Regions from separate parts of the Homo sapiens genome. Here regions 1 and 3 are each linked to region 2. Evidence: promoter capture Hi-C in 16 types of primary human blood cells and fetal thymus (Javierre and others, 2016). All regions are on one chromosome and are shown on one strand. Each heading gives the region's core, a stretch centred on a gene start or on the middle of the fragment in contact. The rest is flanking DNA. Distances are from core to core; before and after follow the strand shown.

Region 1 (2,700 bases), core at 132-2,631, 1.4 Mb after region 2:
TCTCAAAGAATAGGAAAGAAAAGCTGGGCACGGTGGCTCACGCCTATAATCCCAGCACTTTGAGAGGCTGAAGCGGGCCGATCACTTGAAGTCAGGAGTTTGAGACCAGCCTGGCCAACATGGTGAAACCCCATCTCTACTAAAAATATAAAAATTAGCCAGGCGTGGTGGTGGGCGCCTGTAATCCCAGCTACTCAGGAGGCTGAGGCAGGAGAATCGCTTGAACCCGGGAGGAGGAGGTTGCAGTGAGCCAAGATCGTGCCACTGCACTCCAGCCTGGGTGACAGAGAGTGAGACTCCAGCTCAAAAAAAAAGAAAGGAAAAGCAAGAGAAAGGAAGGGGAGGTGGGGAGGGGGAGGGGAGGAGAGGGGAGGGGGAGGGGAGGAGACGGAAGGGGGAGGGAGAGGGGAGGGAGGAGGGGGTGGGGGGAGGGGGGAGGGGAAGGGAGGGGAGGGGATGTACACATCTACGTATCCATCTATGCATGCATCCATCCACCCATCCACCTATGTATCTGTTCATCCATTTATCCATCCATCCACCCACCTATCCACACATCCTTTCATCCACTTATCCATCCATCCATATACCATCCATGGAGGGGAGGGGAGGGGATAGGTGGAGGGGGTGGGGGAAGGGAGGGGGACAAAAGATGAGGGGATGGGAGGGGGATGGGAAGGGAGGGGGTGGGGTGGGGGGGAAGGGGAAGGGAGGGGAAGGGAAAGGAAGGGAAGGGAGGGGAGGGAAGGGGGAGGGGAGGGAAGGGGGAGGGGAGGGGGAGGGGAGGTGGGGAGGAGGAGGGGAGGGGAGGAAAGGGAAGGGGGAGGGGGAGGGGAGGGAGGAGGGGGTGGGGGAGAGGCAGAAGGGAAGGGAGGGGAGGGGAGGGGATGGAGGGGAGGGGAGAGGGGAGGGGGAGGGGAAGTGAAAGGAAGGGAAGGGAGGGGAGGGGAGGGGGAAGGGGAGGGGAGAGGGGGAAGGGGAGGGGAGAGGGGAGGGGAGGGGAAGGGAAAGGAAGGAAAGAGAGGGGAGGGGAAGGGGGAGGGGAGGGGAGTGGGGAGGGAATGGAGGGGAGGGGAGGGGAGGGGGAGGGAGGGAAGGGAATGGAGGGGAGGGGGAGGAGATGGGGGAGGGGGAGGGAAGGGGAGGGCTCAGCTCAGCAGTGTGCGTGGCAGTCCTGATCCTGGATTGATTGTGTGTGTGTGTGTGTGTGTGTGTGTGTGTGTTCTTGACAAGTGTATCTTTGAAAATCAACTGTCACTGTGCTTCCTGCCTGTAATCATTTCCCTAGTTTCCTTTCTGACTTTTTAAAATCGATGGTGACCTCTGCTTATGAGTCATGAGTGATCTGTTCGTTGTAGGTCCCTGAGGACCTCACTCTCCACTCCTGTTTCAGGCATGGGGCGGCTGGTTCTGCTGTGGGGAGCTGCCGTCTTTCTGCTGGGAGGCTGGATGGCTTTGGGGCAAGGAGGAGCAGGTAATTATTTAAACACCCTCTTCTTGTTGTATTTTGGTTTGTGGTTTGCTTTGCAACCAGGCACTCTTTATTTTGTAAAACTTAAACAATGAGCATGGAGGTTTCTTTCTTCTTTTCTTTTTTTTTTTTTTTTTTTTCCGGGTTCAAGCAATTCTCCTGCCTCAGCTTCTCAAGTAGCTGGGACAAAACATATTTATAAGTAAATACATGAATATTAAGTATACTTATTGCTCCCGGAATATCCACTGCTTATATGAGCTTTCGGTGGCCAGAACTAGGAACTGTATGTGTGCGTGTGTGTGTCTATCTATTGATTGATTGATTGGTAGATATATTCATTTTTAATCTATCCATCAATGTATCTCATCTATCTTTTCCCATTAATCACCCATCCATCCACTATCCATCCATCTATTATTCATTGATCCATCCACTAATATATCCATCCACCCATCTATCAAACGATTCATCCACTCATACATTCACCCACCCATCAACCCACCCAGCCATCCGTCCACCCAACCTTTCATTCACTCATCCATCCATCCACCATCCACCCAGCTGTTATCTATCCATCCTCCCATCCACCCATCTATCATCCATCCATCCATCCATCCACCCATCCACCCATCCATCCACCAATACATCCATCCATCCATCCACCCATCCACCCATCCATCTACCAATACATCCATCCATCCATGCATTCACCCACACTTTTATCCACTTATCCATCCATCCATCCATCCACCCATCCATCCACCAATACATCCATCTATCCATGCATTCACCCACACTTTTATCCACTTATCCATCCATCCATCCATCCATCCACCCATCCACCCATCCATCCACCAATACATCCATCCATCCATGCATTCACCCACACTTTTATCCACTTATCCATCCATCCATCCATCCACCCATCCATCCACCAATACATCCATCTATCCATGCATTCACCCACACTTTTATCCACTTATCCATCCATCCATCCATCCACCCATCCATCCACCAATACATCCATCTATCCATGCATTCACCCACACTTTTATCCACTTATCCATCCATCCATCCATCCATCCACCCATCCACCCATCCATCCACCAATACATCCATCTATCCATGCATTCACCCACACTTTTATCCACTTATCCATCCATCCATCCATCCATCCATCCATCCATCCATCCATCCACCCATCCACCCATCCACCCACCAATACA
Region 2 (2,700 bases), core at 129-2,628:
CCCTGGGAAATGTGATGTCGGCTATTATTGCGGTTCCCTCTCCTCCCTAGAGTCTCCTAAGAATTTGGGTCATGCTCCATTTTCAGACAATTTGAAAATTGGTCTGTTATGGTCTCTGCTCTGAAAAGCTTCATTCTCATCCCACCTCCTGCCCCGGCTTCCAGCAGCCTCCCTTAAAATTCTGGGGATGCAGACATCTGTGCTGAGGCTGAGAAGCCAGGAGCCTGGAGACCAGCGTCCCTGGGCAGGTGCAGTGGAACCAGCTGGCCATGTGCCAAAATTCCTGTGACCCTTCCCTGGTACTGTGCTGTCTTTGCTGAGAGCTGGCCGCCTGCTCAGGGGTCCCTAAGTCTTACACTGGACAACTGGATGAGTGAGAAATAATTATTTAATTGTTAAGCCACAGAAATTCCAGGGCTCATGTGTTACAGCCAGTCATTTCTCATGAACTAATACAGTAGATGGCTTGGATCAACCCCCTCTGATGGGATGCTGCTTCTCTTCTCGGTTGGTGGAAAAAGAATTTCCATCAGTCTCTCTCTCCTTGTCTCTCTCTCTCTCTCTTTATTCCTTTTCCTTTCTGTCTCCATCTCCCTCTCCCTGACTCTTCTGGCCCCTCCCTACCATTGTCAGATAAAATATCAGGTTGCACACGGTAACGCACGTCTGTAATCCTAGCACTTTGGGAGACTAAGGCAGGAGGATTTCTTGAGTTCAAGAGTTCAAGACCACCCTGGACAACATAGTGATACCTCGTCTCTACAAAACAAACAAACAAACATATTAGCTGAGCATGGTGGCACACGCCTGTGATTTTAGCTGGTCTGGAGGCTGAGGTGGGAGGATTGCTTGCCCCCAGGATGTCAAGGCTGCAGTGAGCTGTGATGGCACCACTTCTTTCTAGCCTGGGTGACAGAACAAGACCCCCATTTCAAAAAAAAAAAGACACAACATCATCAAAAATTGTACTTAAATATAAAAGTTTGAATACTGAAAAGTCTCCCACAGCAAGCAGGCTTTAAAACTCCAAAATCTATCTGTACACAGCACTTTTTTTTTTTTCACTCTTCTCAGATCTAAGAACGATGACAGGTGGCCATGGTGCCTCGTGTCCCCTTGCAGGGGTGCAGGGGTACACACACCTTTTTTTTTTTTTTTTTTAATTTGAGATGGAATCTCGCTCTGTCGCCCAGGCTGGAGTGTAGTGGTGAGATCTCGGCTCACTGCAAACTCCGCCTTCCGGGTTCACGCCATTCTCCTGCTTCAGCCTCCCGAGTAGCTGGGACTACAGGCGCCCGACCATCACGCCAGGCTAATTTTTTGTACTTTTAATAGAGACGGGGGTTTCACCATGTTGGCCAGGCTGGTCTCGAACTCCTGACCTCGTGATCCTCCCGCCTCGGCCTCCCAAAGTGCTGGGATGACAGGCGTGAGCCACCGTACCCAGCCTCGGTGAAAACCTCAGAGGCAGGCAGCATATTCCCTGCCGAGCCGGTAGGTGGCGCAGTCAGATAAGCATTAACTAAATCACAGCTCCCTCTCCCCATCAGAATCTTTATCTAGAGGGTAACCCCAAACCTGAGAATTTGGTCAGGTCCGCACACACACAGGCATCATCATTCTTCAGCGCCATCATGAAGGGCTCTTCTCCCCCTGTTAAAGGAAACTATCACATAGTCTTCCGAAACAGCCAGTCAAAAACTTTGTGATGCAGGAAAGAACAAAAAAAAATTAAAGGACGATTACAGAATAAATATTTACATTTCTGCCTGTAACACGGACTCTGAAGCATTGGAATAATGAGGACTTGCACACCGCAAATGGGCATCAAAATCGGGCTTTATACTTGAAAAATGAAGTTTTGTGTCAAAGAAAAGGGACATTTCAAACACCACATTTATGTTTGACCCACATATACATGTGATTTTAGCTGGTCTGATATTATATTATATTATATATATATATATTTGTTTGTTTGTTTGTTTTGAGACAGAGACTCACTCTGTCGCCCAGGCTGGAGTGTTGTGGAGCAATCTCGGCTCACTGCAGTCTCCGCCTCCTGGGTTCAAGTGATTCTCCCGCCTCAGCCTCCCGAGTAGTTAGGACTACAGGCGCCTGCTTCCGTGCCCTGCTAATTTTTGCATTTTTAGTAGAGACGGGGTTTCACCATGTTGGCCAGGCCGGTCATGAACTCCTTGACTTCAGGTGATCCACCTGCCTCGGCCTCCCAAAGTGCTGGGATTACAGGCGTGAGCCACTGCACCTGGCCAGTACCTTTATACCCTTCTGGAAAGAGAACATGTTCCTTCCCCTGTTGACACTGAATTATGTCAACAGTTCTCCCCCAAGTAATGCATGGGTTTAAATCACACAGGTGATTTCAACTTGCTGCCCCCACTATTTCATTTGACAAAGGACACAGTCCTGCCTACCTGAGAGGCAGTGGCTCTACGTAAAAAGTTTTAACACACAGGAAACACCATTAAAGGGTTAGTGACTAACCCATATTTCCTGTTTTTTTGGTTTGTTTGTTTGTTTTCCCCACACATCCCCACTGGCCTGAATGAGACCTCAAGGTGTCTCATTCTTACTTTATCTTACAATCACTCTGATGGTCAAGAAGCTTGAGCACATGGGAATTCTTAAATCAAGGCACATGATTGTTACAAAGAATAGACGCTGAGGTGGGCGGATCACCTG
Region 3 (2,700 bases), core at 92-2,591, 1.1 Mb after region 2:
CACCTTGGCACCTCAAAGTGCTGGGAATACAGGTGTGAGCCACCAGGCCTCGACTTTTTTTTTTTTTTTGAGACAGTCTCACTCTGTTACCCAGGCTGGAGTGCAATGGCCTGATCTTGGCTCACTGCAACCTCCAGCTCCCGGGTTCAAGTGATTCTCCTGCCTCAGCCTCCCCAGTAGCTAGGATTACAGGCATCCACCACCATGCCCAGCTAATTTTTGTATTTTTAGTAGGGACGGGATTTCGCTATGTTGGCCAGGCTGGTCTCGAACTCCTGACCTCAAGTGATCCACCCGCCTTGGCCTCCCAAAGTGCTGGGATTATAGGCGTGAGCCAGCAGGCCTGGTCTTTTTGTTTGTTTGTTTGTTTTTTGGGACAGTCTCACTGTCACCCAGACTGGAGTGCAATGGCCTGATCTTGGCTCACTGCAACCTCCACCTCCCAGGTTCAAGTGATTCTCCTGCCTCAGCCTCCCCAGTAGCTGGGACTACAGGTGTCCACCACCACACCCAGCTAATTTTTGTGTTTTTAGTAGGGACGGGATTTCGCCATGTTGGCCAGGCTGGTCTCAAACTCCTGACCTGAAGTGATCCACCCGCCTTGGCCTCCCAAAGTGCTGGGACTACAGGCGTGAGCCACCACACCCAGCCTGGCTTGAGGGATTGATTCTACCATGTCTTTTCCCTGAGCAGTGGTTCAATATTCATTCATTCTTTCTCAGTGACAGATCCTTCCCTCTCAACCTCCTCCCACGAGTGACAAGAACCAACCGTTGCTCCTCACAAGCAAGGATACCAGAGCTCGGAAACCTGGTTCTCATTCCTGAAACTGGCCGATCCCCCATGGGATGTTGAGGATATGAGCCTGCAGCGCCCGTGACCAACTGTGAGAGCCGGAATGATCAGTGCCCAAGGTCTGTTCGCTTGTCACAGTCTGGCTGTGTACCAAGAGATGTCGCAATGAGCACAGCTTTAGAGTCTAAAAGGAAACGTGTTCTGTTCTTTCTTTGTTTTGTTTTGTTATTTCAGAAGAAACAGGAATCGGTTCTGGAGCATGCCACGGCTCTTCACTGCTGGTTACAAAATTTAGAAAAATCATTCTCCCTCTTTTCCTCACTCTCAGGGTTCTCTTAAGAGTAGGGCCCCCTGCGAGCCAGTGATAGGGAGGTGGGCGGTTAACGGTGCTGCCCAGAGACACAGCGACGTTACTCCAGTGGGCTCAGCCCTGCACATGAGTGTTCAGACAGTTACAGAGGAAATGTCACAACACACTTCCTTTCCACCTAAGCCTGAGTCGCAACCGTGGTGGTGCGCTGGGAGGTGGAGTTTGCAGAATTTGCATTCGGAGACAGTCGTGCCAGCCGGTGGGCCACCCAGCGAAGCGGCCGCCTTTGCAAGGTTGCTGGACAGATGGAACTGGAAGGGCAGCCGTCTGCCGCCCACGAACACCTTCTCAAGCACTTTGAGTGACCACGGCTTGCAAGCTGGTGGCTGGCCCCCCGAGTCCCGGGCTCTGAGGCACGGCCGTCGACTTAAGCGTTGCATCCTGTTACCTGGAGACCCTCTGAGCTCTCACCTGCTACTTCTGCCGCTGCTTCTGCACAGGTGAGCCGCCGAGCTGGACTTTTATGCTTGTCCTGCACTGTCAAGGGAGAAGACAGGGTCGCTGGGAGGGTCCGTGTACGGTGAGAACATGGGGGAAGACGGTGCAAACTCCATGAGGCGTGTTCTCCTCACGCTAGAGCAGACCAGGAGTGCAAATTTCCTGGGAGGAAGACTTTGCACAGCCGCTTCGTCACTTAGGGGAGAAATGCTCAAATTTTCCAGGGCTGCAAGCCACCCTTCCTTTAATAACTCATTCCATGAACTTTCAGAGGCCGAGGTGGGCGGATCACGAGGTCAGGAGTTCGAGACCATCCTGGCTAACACGGTGAAACCCCGTCTCTACTAAAAATACAAAAATTAGCCAGGCGTGGTGGCAGGTGCCTGTAATCCCAGCACTTTGGGGGACCGAGGTGGGTGGATCATCTGAGGTCAGGAGTTCGAGACCATCCTGGCTAACACGGTGAAACCCCGTCTCTACTAAAAATACAAAAATTAGCTGGGCTTGGTGGTGGGCGCCTGCGGTCCCAGCTACTCGGGAGGCTGAGGCAGGAGAATGGCATGATCCCTGGAGGTGGAGCTTGCAGTGAGCAGAGATCACGCCACTGCACTCCAGCCTGGGCGACAGAGCGAGACTCTGTTTAGAAAAAAAAAAACAAAAAAAAACTCATTCCATGAAATGCGCCTCTCTTGAGGTTAACCTTAGAGAGGGTAAGCAGCTGCGGCTGCTGCACGTAACCCATTTACGCCTGAGATTGCAGTTTTTTCAATGTTTGCAATGAGACCTTGGCGATGACCTTGAGCCGTGGGATATAAATAACTCCCAAATGCTTAGCGTTCCAATAATGGAAGAGTAAGCATAAATTAAACGGGTTTTAAAGCCCTATGGGTGCCTGGATGAGCACGGTGGCCCCTCGTCACCCCCTCGGTGCCAGGGAGACCCCAGACCCGGGTCTCACGGCCACCTCAGACCTCATTTGTACAGGTCCGCTTAGAAACCCCAATTCCTTGGGTCTTGTCAGATCTGTCCCCTAAAAAGCTGAGAAAAGGCAGAGGGAGCTGCTCTGGGAATTTCAGGCCACACACAACAAGGCCTGC

What was found. The method cuts DNA at HindIII sites, captures the fragments that hold promoters and counts their contacts. A CHiCAGO score of 5 or more calls a contact.
Region 1: a contact is called between the fragment with the promoter of CRLF2 here and a fragment that was not itself captured in region 2, in 4 of 17 cell types (non-activated CD4 T cells, total CD4 T cells, naive CD4 T cells and 1 more). The highest score is 7.9, in non-activated CD4 T cells.
Region 3: a contact is called between the fragment with the promoter of P2RY8 here and a fragment that was not itself captured in region 2, in 1 of 17 cell types (naive CD8 T cells). The highest score is 7.2, in naive CD8 T cells.

Annotation. Positions count from the first base shown.
Region 1 is chrX:1,211,330-1,214,029 of GRCh38, reverse strand. CRLF2 (cytokine receptor like factor 2) reads left to right here and starts at 1,381. Exons shown (of 8, transcript NM_022148.4): 1 at 1,381-1,474. The coding sequence starts at 1,396. The HindIII fragment of the contact is 4,372 bases long and covers 1-2,700 here.
Region 2 is chrX:2,592,290-2,594,989 of GRCh38, reverse strand. All of the region lies in intron 1 of LINC03112 (long intergenic non-protein coding RNA 3112), which reads left to right. Among named protein-coding and RNA genes, the nearest start is that of LINC03112, 16 kb to the left of the region's middle. The HindIII fragment of the contact is 2,495 bases long and covers 131-2,625 here.
Region 3 is chrX:1,535,826-1,538,525 of GRCh38, reverse strand. P2RY8 (P2Y receptor family member 8) reads left to right here and starts at 1,341. Exons shown (of 2, transcript NM_178129.5): 1 at 1,341-1,605. The HindIII fragment of the contact is 32,946 bases long and covers 1-2,700 here.